Regions from separate parts of the Homo sapiens genome. Here all the other regions are linked to region 1. The links are contacts of gene promoters, found by promoter capture Hi-C in human tissues and cell types (Jung and others, 2019). All regions are on one chromosome and are shown on one strand. Each heading gives the region's core, a stretch centred on a gene start or on the middle of the fragment in contact. The rest is flanking DNA. Distances are from core to core; before and after follow the strand shown.

Region 1 (3,711 bases), core at 213-2,712:
TTCCTAAGGTTGTGAGAACCTAGAAGAACTGCCTTTGATTAATGCTAGAAAACAGCTCTTATGAGACATAAAGTTCATTTAATAATCCCACAAATGCTTACGAGCAACTATTCTATACCAGGCAGTTTTCTAGCTTTTTGGAAATAGAGTGGTGAACAAAATAGATGAACATCTCTGCCTTCATAGAACTTAGATTCTAGCTGGGCACAGTGGCTCACGCCTGTAATCCCAGCACTTTGGCTGAGGCAGGTGGATTACTTGAGCTCAGGAGTTCAAGACCAGCCTGGGCAACATGTTGAAATCACATCTCTACCAAAAATACAAGATATTAGCCAGGCGTGGTGGTGTGTGTCTGTGGTCCCAGCTACTCATAAGACTGGGGTGAGAGGATCACTTGAGCCTGGGAGGTGGAGTTTGCAGTGAGCTAAGATCGTGCAACTGCACTCCAGCCTGGGTGACCAAGTGAGACTCCATCTCAAAAACAAAAAAAAAAACAACTCAGATTCTAGTTGGGGAGACATATACTAAATAAGATAACACAAATAAAGGGCAGTATATAGTGAATTCAGTAGGGACAAATGCTGGGTAGAAAAAACTAAGCAGGGGAAGAAGACAGGAAGTGTCAGGAGTAGTACTGTGGCTTTATTATTATAAATTGTTTCCTTTTAAAAACGATGTGTATTATGCATTAAAGCATTGCTCTGAGAAGGGGTCCTCTGACTTCTCCAGACTGCCAAAGGGACCCTGGCATTGAAAGGGTTAAGGAGGCTGGGCGCAGTGGTTCACACCTGTAATCCCAGCACTTTGGGAGGCCTAGGTGGATAGATCACTTGAGGTCAGGAGTTTGAAGCCAGCCTAGCCAACATGGTGAAATCGTGTCTCTCCTAAAAATACAAACATTAGCTGGGCATGGTGGCGGGCACCTGTAATCCCAGCTACTCAGGAGGCTGAGTCAAGAGAATCGCTTGAACCCAGGAGGAGAGGTTGCAGTGAGCCGAGATCGCACCACTGCACTCTAGACTGGGCAATAAGAGGAAAACTCCATCTCAAAAAAAAAAAAAAGAGAGAAAAGAAAGAAAAAGAAAAGGTTAAGGACCCCTCATTAGAGTTACAAGACCAGCCCTCAACATGTGATTAAAAGATGTTTGTTATGGCCGGGCGTGGTGGCCCATGCCTGTAATCCCAGCACTTTGGGAGGCCGAGGCAGGCGGATCACCTGAGGTCGGGAGTTCGCGACCAGCCTGACCAACATGGAGAAACCCCATCTCTACTAAAAATACAAAATTAGCTGGGCATAGTGGCGCATGCCTGTAATTCCAGCTACTTGGGAGGCTGAGGCAGGAGAATTGCTTGAACCCAGGAGGTGAGGTTGCAGTGAGCCGAGATTGCGCCATTGCACTCCAGCCTGGGCAACAAGAGTGAAATGCCATCTCAAAAAAAAAGAAAAAAAAAAGATGTTTGTTTCCTCTTTGATGCTTTATGTGATAATGATGCGGTAGACTTTCCACATATCTCCCTATTATATCTGGTAATTGTGGCTTTAAATTATTTGAAGCTGTCATTCACTTTTGAGACTAGTGTTTGTAGGATGTTTTTTCCATTTGTGTTCTGTAGAACCCCAGGGTACCCTGAAGCCTTTTTGGCACATGTGGGGGTCATTTTAAACGTATGTTTGGATTATTCATCTACGTTAGTCTAAACAAGTAATCAGATGCCTGGCTTTGAGGTAGGTATAAGTAAAGAGAATAGACTAAGGGGTTGGTGCATATTTATGGAACATAAACAGCATAGATGGTTAACAGATGCTACACACAGGTGAACCACTGATTTAACCTGTTATGTGTATGCCATTGAGCCACTATCAAGACCTTGAGCTGCTACCTAGTGTCTGTATAAAGATAAGAATTTCCAGCCAGGGGCCGGGCGCTGTGGCTCATGCCTATAATCCGGGCACTTTGGGAGGCTGAGGCAGTAGGATTGCTTGAGCCCAGGAGCTCAAGACCACCCTAGGCAACATAAGGAGACCTTGTCTCTGCAAAAAATGAAAATATCAGCCAGATGTGGTTGTGTGCACTGGTAGTCCCAGCTCCTTGGGAGGCTGAGGTGGGAGGATCACTTGAGCCTGGGAAGTCAAGGCTGCAGTGAGCCATGATTGTGCCACTGTACTCCAGCCTGAGTGACAGAGTGAGATCTTGTCTCTAAAATATAAATAAATAAAAAGGATATTTTCTAGGCCAGGCGTGGTAGCTCACGCCTGTAATCCCAGCACTTTGGGAGGCTGAAGTGGACCAATCACCTGAGCTCAGGAGTTTAAGACCAGCCTGGGCTTAGGCAACATGGCGAAACCCCATGTCTACAAAAAAAAAAAAAAAAAAAAAAAGAAAGAAAAAGAAAAAAAGATATTCTGAGCTTATTTTCTCGTTATTTCCTTCTCTCCCTTCCCAAATATTTTTTTGAGCATCTGTGTCAGCTAGGAATACAGAAACTAAAAAACATTGCTTGCCCTTGTGACTGGGGAGATATAGACAATTGAATAATCAACCACAACATGTTATAGTAAGTGCTAAGATAAAGGTAGGCACAAGTGTCAGGGAAAACACAGAAGTGGGATGCCTGAGCTGAGTGGGAGTGGGGGTGGCCCAAGAAGGCTTCCTGAACCAGTGGCACCAGATGGACAAGGGAGAGGCCCCCTACTCCCTGCTTGTCCTCTGCTCTCTTCTGACCGGTAGCGTTAATACTTCTTTGGTTTAATGCAGGATCACCAGACTCTGTGGCCCACGACCTGTTTTTGTGTAGCCCATAAGACATACCTTTCTAAGTACTATAGCTGAAAAACATCAAAAGAGTAGTAATATTTTGTGACATGTGAAAATTATATGAAATTCAAATTTCTGTCTGTAAACCTCACTGGAACACAGCCATGCTCATTCGTTTGTATATGGTCTGTGGCTGCTTTCTCCCTACAACGGTAGAATTGAACAGTTGCATCAGAGACCTTATGGCCTGCTAGGCCAGAAATGTTAAGCCCTTTACAGAGAAAGCTTGCTGGCTCCTGTTTAATGCTTTAACTGCCCTACTGAAAGGCAGGAGGTTGAAAAAATGATGGTAGTCAAAAGGAATGCATGAAATCCTGTTGTCTTCTGTTAGCTGATTGCAAGTAGTACACAGGATATATTTGAGACATCTCTTTTCCTATCTCCCACCAAAGGATAATTCAGGCGGATCTCAGTGCACAGGCACAGGCATTTGCCTCATTCTTGTTTTGTCTGTTTTGAATTTAGTTATGGGAATATTTTAATATCTCTCAAAAATAGGGTATCTGGTGTGAGTCAGAATGATTATAGAACATGCTTGCCTGGAGAACAGGAAATGCGGGATCCACTCCTGGTGTGCTGTTAGCTGAAGGACGTCAGAACTGTCCTTTAACCTCCCTGCAGGTCTCTAAATGGTAGGATTGTTTGGGGATTACACTAGATCATCTCTAGGCACCGTTCAGCTCAGTAGAGACATTGCTGCATGGTGGAAGGAGTGACCTCAGTGTGAATCCTGGTTCTGTCCCTTTCTGCCCAGGAGACCTTGAGCAGCTTATCTAAATGCTGTGTGCCTTTGTTAGCTCATCTGAAAATGTGGCTGTAAGAATGACCTCATGAGAATGGACTGAGATCATATTCTTAAAACTCTTGGCACTAATAGGTATTTAATCTACTATAA
Region 2 (3,867 bases), core at 880-3,379, 280 kb before region 1:
TGACTTTCAGTACTTCTCCTGTCTGCCTCTTTCCTTCTTTGGTGTCAATCCTTCATCTGCCTCATTCACTGGTACCTTCACCTATAATATCTTTTTTTTCCATAGAAACAGATTCATCAGTGATATCTTTCACTTCACTCAAGATGCCCCCCTCAACTCCCACTCCTTTCTCAGTCCCTTGTAGTTCCTCACTCCCTTTGACACTTTCAAAAGGAATTTCCATCTCATCATGAGTAAATGCCATCACTCTTTCATCGCCAGTAACTTCTACCACTTTTTCAATGTTCTTCTCATTTATGCTCCCCATTCTTGAACCCTCCAATTTCTCCCCGCTGGTCCCTAACTTCTCCTCACTAGATCTCAGCTTCTCCGCACTTGACCCCAGCTTCTCTCCACTCAACCTCAGCTTCTCTCTGCTTGATCTCAGCTTCTCTCCACTGGTTCCCAGCTTCTCTCTGCTTGATCTCAGCTTCTCTCCACTCAACCTCAGCTTCTCATCACTTGTTCCCAGCTTCTCTCCACTCAATCTCAGCTTCTCTCTGCTTGATCTTAGCTTCTCTCCACTCAACCTCAGCTTCTCTCTGCTTGATCTTAGCTTCTCTCCACTCAACCTCAGCTTCTCATCACTGGTTCCCAGCTTCTCTCCACTCAACCTCAGCTTCTCTCTGCTTGATCTCAGCTTCTCTCCACTCAACCTCAGCTTCTCTCCACTCAACCTCAGCTTCTCATCACTGGTTCCCAGCTTCTCTCCACTCAACCTCAGCTTCTCTCTGATTGATCTCAGCATCTCTCCACTCAACCTCAGCTTCTCATCACTGGTTCCCAGCTTCTCTCCACTAGTTCCCAGCTTCTCTCCACTCCATCTCAGCTTCTCTCTACTTGATCTCAAATTCTCTCCACTTGATCTCAGCTTTCTGCCACTGGACCTCAGCTTCACTCCACTGGACCCCTGCTTCTCTCCCCTGCACACCAGCTTCTCACTAGTAGACCTCAGCTTCTCTACACTTGATCTCATCTTGTCTACACTAGACCTCAACCCCTTCTCATCCTGTCCCAGTTTATATCCATTGGATCTCAAGTCCTCTCCACTGGTCCCTACCTTCTCCCCAGCAGACCTCAACCTCTCTTCAAACCCAGACCCCTTCATAGGCCCTGCTGTCATCCCTGCACTCTTAGATTTAGCCTTTATTTCGTGTTTGACCTCTTGCTTTCCCCAAATACCCCTTGGGCTGTCTTTCCCCAAATCTGCTGAAGCTTGTGATGCACTTGCTCCACGGTATAGCAGCTTCACATCCATCCTTTCCTGACTCGGGCCTGACTTCCCTTTCAAGACCGTCTTTTCCACATCTTCCAGTCTCCAGTACTCAGACTCCAGCTTCGGCTTTCGAGTGTTTCTAGTCAGGAGCTCCACTCTCTTCCCAATTACCATGAGCCCGTTCCAAGGTCCCCAGGTTTTCTCTCGCAGCATCGGCACCCCCTTGCAGCCCCGCTCCAGTGGCGACCGTTCGCGGACCCCGGCCTCGCTTGGGGCGCCCTGGCCGCGGGACTTGTGGAGCTCCCTAGTCCTCCTAGGCTGCTTACCCCGCCGCTCCCTCCCGTCCAAGAGCGGAAACCTAAACAGACCCCCCTTCTCCACAGACATTGTCCCCTGCCCTCGCCCCTGGTCCACCACCCACATCCCCACCACTGCTTCCCATTCCCTGTCCCCACCCTGCCACCCTCACCCTCTTCCCCTTCCCCTTCCCCTTCCCCACTGCCTGGTGGGCGCCAAACTGGGCGAGTGCGCACGCGCAGGCCGCACGTGGCCGTTGGAAGGAGGGGCCCGGAACGGCGGCACGGGGTTGTTGTGGGGGTCAGTCCCCCGGGGACTGGAGGGAGACGCGGCACGCGGCCTCTGCGACCCTATGAACTCTGACCCCAGCTCCCACACTGTCGCCTATCACCGGCCCACTCTCCGTGCCGCGTGTCCCTTAAAAGCTGGGGCCTGGGACAGGAACGACAGACAATGCAGCCAATGGCGTCACGCGCGGTGCCCCGCTACCCAATCGAAAGGCGTGGCTGAGGGAAACGCGGTGGGAACCGCCCCCGACTCCAGGCGACTCCTTGGCCGGGCGGGGGAGAGCGTCCCCGTCAGCTGAGAGCATCCTCACTCGGTCAGTTCCTCGGGCGAGTTACGGGGACGACCTGCGGGAGCACGCGGGCAGTGGCCGGACGCTGAAGCCCAGGAGAGCGATGGAGACGTATGCGGAGGTTGGGAAGGAGGGCAAGGTAGAGAAAGGATGAAGACCCCCACCCCAGCCTCCCCTCACTCCATGAAAGCCCGTGATGCCCAATCATGCGGTGGTGTGTGTGTGTCTGTGTGTGTGTGGTCTGCCTCTGTGTGTTTCTGTGTGTGTCTGTGTGTGTATAGTCTGCATGTGTCTGTTTCTCTGTGTGTCTGTGTGTATGTCGATGTGCCTGCATATGTCTGTGTGTGTGTGTATCTGTGTATGTCTGTATTTGTGTCTCTGTGTGTCTGTGTGTCTGTGTGTGTCTCAGTGTGTGTCTGTGTCTTTGTGTGTCTCTGTGTATCTGTGTGTGTGTCTGTGTGTCTCCGTGTCTCTGTGTGTGTGTGTATGGCCTGTGTGTGTCTGTGTGTGTGCACGTATGCGTCCATGTGGGTGTTTGTGCGTGCATGTCTGTGTCTGTCTCTGTGTGTGTCTGTGCATGTCTGTGTGTGTGTGTCTGTGTGTCTGTGTCTGTGTATGGTCTGCGTGTGTCTTTGTGTCTGTGTCTGTCTGTGTGTATGGTCTGCATGTGTGCATGTATGCATCTGTGTGTGTCTCTGTGTGTATCTGTGTGTGCACGCATGTGCCTGTGTGTGTCTGCGCAGGTCTGTGTCTCTTTGTGTCTGAGTGTGTGTCTGTCTCTGTGTCTATGTATGGTCTGCGTGCATCTTTATGTCTGTGTGTGTGTGTCTCTGTGTGTGTGTATGGTCTGCGTGTGTCTGTGTGTGTGTGTCTGTGTATTTCTGGGTCTGTGTGTGTGTTTGCATGTGTCTGTGTGTGTCTGTATCCGTGTGTCTTTGTATATCTGTGTGTGTCTATGTCAGTGTGTCTGTGTGTGCATCTGTGTGTGTCTGTGTGCCTGTGTATGATCTGTGTATGTCGTTGTGTGTGTCTGTGTGTGTGTTTCTCTGTGCCTGTGTGTTTGTGTGTGTCTGTGTATCTGTGTGTGTTTCTATGTGTGTCTGTGTGTGCGTGTGTCTGTGTTTGTCTCGTGTGTCTGTGTGTGTGTATGTGCCCATGTGTCTCTGTGTGTATGTGTGTGTCTGCGCAAGTGAGAGAAAGGAGACTTGAGCAAGGGAGTGGGGAGCCTCTGTGGCACCTGTGTGCGGACTGATGAGGATGCCAAGGGAGGCAGGGTTTTGCCTTTGTCCTTACAGATGGAAAGGGACCCGTCACTGTCACTCTTACCCTCCCCAAGACCAACTCAGGCTGTCTTGATGGGGGTAGGTGGGTAGGGGGTGGGAGGTGAGGGCGGGGAGGAGGGCAGGATGTTAGGGATTGAGCAGAGGCTGGCATCCTCTTCTCCTTTCCCAAGGCGAGAGAATCCTGTTCAGCCCTAATGGCTTCACTTGTGTTCTGAGTTCATGTAATGATAAGACCATTTCTTCCTTTTGACTTCCTTCAGCAAAGAGTTGTCGAGCATCCACGTTGTGCCAAGGATGGTTAGAGCATGGAGAGGTGCACCCTTTTGGGAGATGGAGGCATATGCATAGTGGGCCGTGGCTGAGGATGAGGATGGAGCAGCTGTGGTCCACCTTTGAGGCCCATCTCCCTCAAGCAGCTACCAAGCAGTGTAGGTCAGAGTAGAGATACTAAGGCA
Region 3 (4,256 bases), core at 545-3,044, 400 kb before region 1:
CTCTGTGGGCTGACCACCTGCTGAACCCATCTCCTCTGCCCAGGGCCAGTACATCCTCACACTGTCAGAGGACATCGTGGATGGCCATGAGCGGGCCATGCTCAAGCGGCTCCTGCGGATCGACTCCAAGTGTCTGCACTTCACTCCCAAGGACTGGAGCAAGAGGGGGAAGTGGTGACCAGACACTGCCCACTGCAGTGCCAAGACGGCAGCAGGACTGGGGCTGATAGCCCACCCCGCCCCCACTGCAGCTCCCACAAAGCACTCTAAGGGAGATGGGGCTGAGGACAGCTCAAAAAGGAGAGGACAGGCCTGGCAGGGGCCCACTGGTGCCCAGCACCAAGGCGAGCTCCGGGCTCAGACCAACTCCAAGGTCAGCTGGCCACAGGCCCAGGCCTCCTCTGAAGCAGGGACCAGAGGGAGCCAGGCAGCTGTGTACAGTGAGAAGGGATCCGGATGGGGGAGCTCTGTACAGAGGGCTGGTGATTGTAAAAATTTCTTTTGTAAAGTAGAAGTTGGGGGTGGGGTGGGTGCTGGCTGCAAAAATTTCTGGCTTCTCTTACCCCTATTGCCCCCGGCAATAAATTGTTTCTATATGCCAGAGCCATGCAAAGTTCTTGGTGGGGAGGGGGAAAGGGCCCATGCTGGCTTAGGGGCTCTAAGGCGCCCAGACTCACAGGTGCTGTGAAGAGCTCCTTTATTGGGGTGATGGAATCGGTTCCAAAGAGCTGGTTTACTGCTGTGAAGGGATCGCAGCTTTGAATTTCAAGCTCTGGTTCTCAGTCCTCGGGCACCTGTGCGTGAATCTGCAACAGGAGTCGCCTCTACTGTTGGACTTGTAAGACAGGGCGGCAAGCTGGCCCCCATACCCGAGGAAGGACCCAGCTGTTCAGAATAACCGCTTCTAGACATGCTAGGAAGAGTGGTCAGGGAGCTACGCTTCCCACACACTACCCAGTAGAATCCTCCAGGCTCCGTCTGCGCAATTGTGCTCCCCAGCCCATCCACCCGGGGGCAAGACGGAACTCCTCGTCTACTCACCGCTGCCGCAAGGCTGGGCCAAGTTAAGGCCCCACGCACTTTGGCATCCGGGCCAGGGATGGTCTCCAGACCCCACAGGGTGAAGCGGCTGAAGTTGGCAGTGGCTCCAATGAAGCGGTCCTGGGGAAGGGGCCTGGCTCAGCATCGGGACTACAGCTCCCGCCCGCACCCCCTTTCAACCCTATCCCTTTGCTCACGAAGTCCCGCTCCAGCGGCTCCTCCTCTTGGTCGTCAGTCCCGGAATCCCGCAAGGGGTCTGGCTTCCCCATCGACACCTTCTTCTCTTCTGTCACCATCACGTATCCCACGAGGCCAGGCGGCACCGCCACCTCCTCTCCCCGTAGACAGCGGCCCCGAAACGACACTTCGAGTCCTGGAGCGGGAGGCGCAAAGGGCCTCAGGCAGGACCCACGCTGGGTCGAGCCCGGAGCTGCCCTCCCGCCACCTCCGGACGGACCACGATCCCCAGGAGCCCAGGCGATGAGAAGCGCGCAGGCCGGCGCGGGGGCTGCCGGGAGCCGTAGTCCGGCCGCAGGGCTCACCCTCGGGGCCCTGGCGGATGGCGGGCGTGAAGAAGCGCCCCACCGGGGCGGGCCCGTCCACCGCAACCTCGCAGGGCAGCAGATGCAGTGTGGCGGGTACGGCGTCGCGCAATGTGGCGGAGCGCAAGTGGACGCGGTGCCTCTCGATGGCCGCTTCGTCGCCGCTCTCCATCCTCCCTCCTACGCGACGCCAGGGCTCGCGAGCTGACACTGAAGCTGGCGCGGAAAGCGCGCAGGACCTCTCAGGAAGCCTCCGCGGGGCCTCACGGGAAGCCGCCGCGGAGCTTCACGGGAAGTGTAGTCCCCTTACCCCCTAACGCTTTCCCTGGGTTCAAGTCCTAGGGTTTTCCAGTTGTGTTTTGTTTTTTTCCTTCCTTCCTTCCCCCCTCCCCTCTTTCCTCCCTCCCCTCTCCCCCTCTCCTTCCCCCTCCCCCCTCCTTCCCCCTCCCCCCTCCCCCTCCTCCCTGCCTCCCTTCCTTCCCCCCTTCCCTTCCCTTCCTTCCCGTCCTTCCCTCTTTCTTTCTTTTTCTTATTTATTATTATTTTTTTTTGACAGAGTCTCGTTTTGTCGCCCAGGCTGGAGTGCCAGGCACGGTCTCAGCTCACTGCAACCTCCGCCTCCCGGGTTCAAGCGATTCTCCTGCCTCAGCCTCCGGAGTAGCTGGGATTACAGGCGCACACCACCATGCCCACCTAATTTTTGTATTTTTAGTAGAGACTGGGTTTCGCCATGTTGGCCAGGCTGGTCTCGAACTCCTGACCTCAGGCGATCCTCCAGCCTCGGCCTTCTGAAGTACTTGGATTACAGGCGTGAGACACCGCCCCCAGCCGGGTTTTTTTCTTTTATTGTTTTTAATGGCACATGTCGTTGTAAAAATCTAAAACGATTCTGAAAAGTACTCTTTTTATATTGATTAGTAGGTAGGTTATTCATTTTTAGTTTATTAGGGACATCAACCCTTTTCTTAAATGCATTGAAAATGTTTTATCTGTGGTCTGTCTTGCAAACCTGTGTAAAGGTGATTTTTGCTGGACAAGGACTTATTTTTGTGGTTGTTTGGTCTTTTAGACAAGGTCTCACTCGCCTAGGCTGGAGTGCAGTGGTTTGATTGGCTCACTGCAGCCTCGACCTCCCAGGCTTAATCCATCCCCCATCCTCAGCTTCCTGTGTAGCTGGAACCACAGGCCTGCGCCACCACGCAGCTAATTTTTGTATTTTTGGTAGAGGTGGAGTTTTGCCATGTTGCCCAGGCTGGTCTTGAACTCCTGGACTCAAGTGATCTGCCCACCTTGGCCTCCCAAATCACGCTGGAATTACAGGCGTGAGCCACTGCACCCAGGACAAAGACTAATTTTTTGTAGTCAAATTTATCAACACTTTTCAGTCTTTTAGATTTCACAATTTTCTCTCTTTGGTTTCTCAGCTCTTCTCTAATGTTTATTTGTTCAGACACCCAACTTAGATATATTTTTTCAAGTTCTCACATAAAACAAACACAAAACTGGAAATTTAGATTTAAATTGCGTTTAATTTATACATCCCTGCACATCTGGGAGCTGGCCTTGGTATTCTGTTGAATATAAACAATTTCAGAGAACATCAGCATCGGACAAGGTCACTCTGTGACCGTGAGGGAGCAAGACAGAAACAGAACCACTCCATCGTCACATCTGAATGCTGGCAAAGGTGAACACTGTCCAAACCACAAAAGGCATGAAACATCCCTCTTTCTCCCATAAGAGAGTGACTGTTGTTTCCTTACCAATTACAGCATTAGCCTCCAACTAATCTTCTCTCCTTCTGGGCAAGACTCATTAAGATAGTCCGTCATAGACATACCCCCACCTCTGACAGCATCCAAGCCAGAGAGAAGCCTGGCTTCCCTAAACCCTGACTGAAATCACTGAACATGGGCACAAATCCTCCTATAAGTCCTTTCTAGCACCCTCTTATTGAAATTCCCCAGAGTGCAGGAGTAATATACCCAATTTGTTCAACTGCAGATGTATTCCTGGTGCTCTTTCACTAGAGTGGCAGATTAATTTAGAAAAAGGCTTGCTTTAGTTTTCTATCAGGAAAGACATAATTCAATTTATTCACATCTCCTTGGATATCTGTACAGTTGTGAGGTTTTGTTCATATATAATAGCTATTAATACATATTGTAAAGTTTATTTCTTCTTAGCTTATATTAATAATTGTTTCTATTAAGAACTGAGGGGCTGGGCATGATGATTCACACCTGTAATTCCAGTGCTTTAGGAGGCCAAGATGGGGGAGGATTGCTTGAAGCCAGGAGTTTGAGACCGGCCTGGGAAACATAGCAAGACTCCGTTCCTACAAAGAAAAAAATTTTTTTAAACATGAGTGGGGCACAGTGGCATGTGCCTGTAGTCCCAGCTACTCAAGAAGCTAAGGTGGGAAGATCACTTAAGCCAAGGAGTTTGAGGCTGCCGTTCGAGTCACGATTGCACCACTGCACACCAGCCTGGGTTACGGAGGGAGACCCTTTCTCTAAAAACCAAAATTGGGGCTTTTATTTTTTTCATTTTATTTTCTAACTGATTTTCTTTTTAATCTATAGCAGGGGTTGGCAAACTTTTTCTGTAAGGGGTCAAATAGTAAATATTTTAGGTTTTGTGGACTTTATGGCTTCTGTCGCAGCTACTCAA

Evidence for each region. The method cuts DNA at HindIII sites, captures the fragments that hold promoters and counts their contacts. A contact is called where the count stands out against the background at its distance.
Region 2: a contact is called between the fragment with the promoter of SNX32 here and a fragment that was not itself captured in region 1, in 5 of the 25 tissues and cell types used here (IMR-90 fibroblasts, adrenal gland, dorsolateral prefrontal cortex and 2 more).
Region 3: the fragment with the promoter of RNASEH2C here is called in contact with a fragment that was not itself captured in region 1 in 1 of the 25 tissues and cell types used here (mesenchymal stem cells).

Annotation. Positions count from the first base shown.
Region 1 is chr11:66,116,413-66,120,123 of GRCh38, forward strand. All of the region lies in intron 1 of PACS1 (phosphofurin acidic cluster sorting protein 1), which reads left to right. Among named protein-coding and RNA genes, the nearest start is that of PACS1, 48 kb to the left of the region's middle. The HindIII fragment of the contact is 5,164 bases long and covers 1-3,711 here.
Region 2 is chr11:65,831,834-65,835,700 of GRCh38, forward strand. SNX32 (sorting nexin 32) reads left to right here and starts at 2,130. Exons shown (of 13, transcript NM_152760.3): 1 at 2,130-2,268. The coding sequence starts at 2,233. LOC124902693 reads right to left here and starts at 1,966. Exons shown (of 7, transcript XM_047427980.1): 1 at 1-1,966. The coding sequence starts at 1,678. The coding sequence ends at 62. RefSeq lists silencers at 1,682-1,811, 1,985-2,197 and an enhancer at 2,122-2,211. The HindIII fragment of the contact is 13,089 bases long and covers 1-3,867 here.
Region 3 is chr11:65,719,004-65,723,259 of GRCh38, forward strand. RNASEH2C (ribonuclease H2 subunit C) reads right to left here and starts at 1,795. Exons shown (of 4, transcript NM_032193.4): 1 at 1,584-1,795; 2 at 1,239-1,414; 3 at 1,042-1,161; 4 at 1-806. The coding sequence starts at 1,755. The coding sequence ends at 780. It overlaps KAT5 (lysine acetyltransferase 5), which reads left to right. Exons shown (of 13, transcript NM_182710.3): 13 at 44-601. The coding sequence ends at 178. RefSeq lists a silencer at 1,481-1,720 and an enhancer at 1,871-1,940. The HindIII fragment of the contact is 7,035 bases long and covers 1-4,256 here.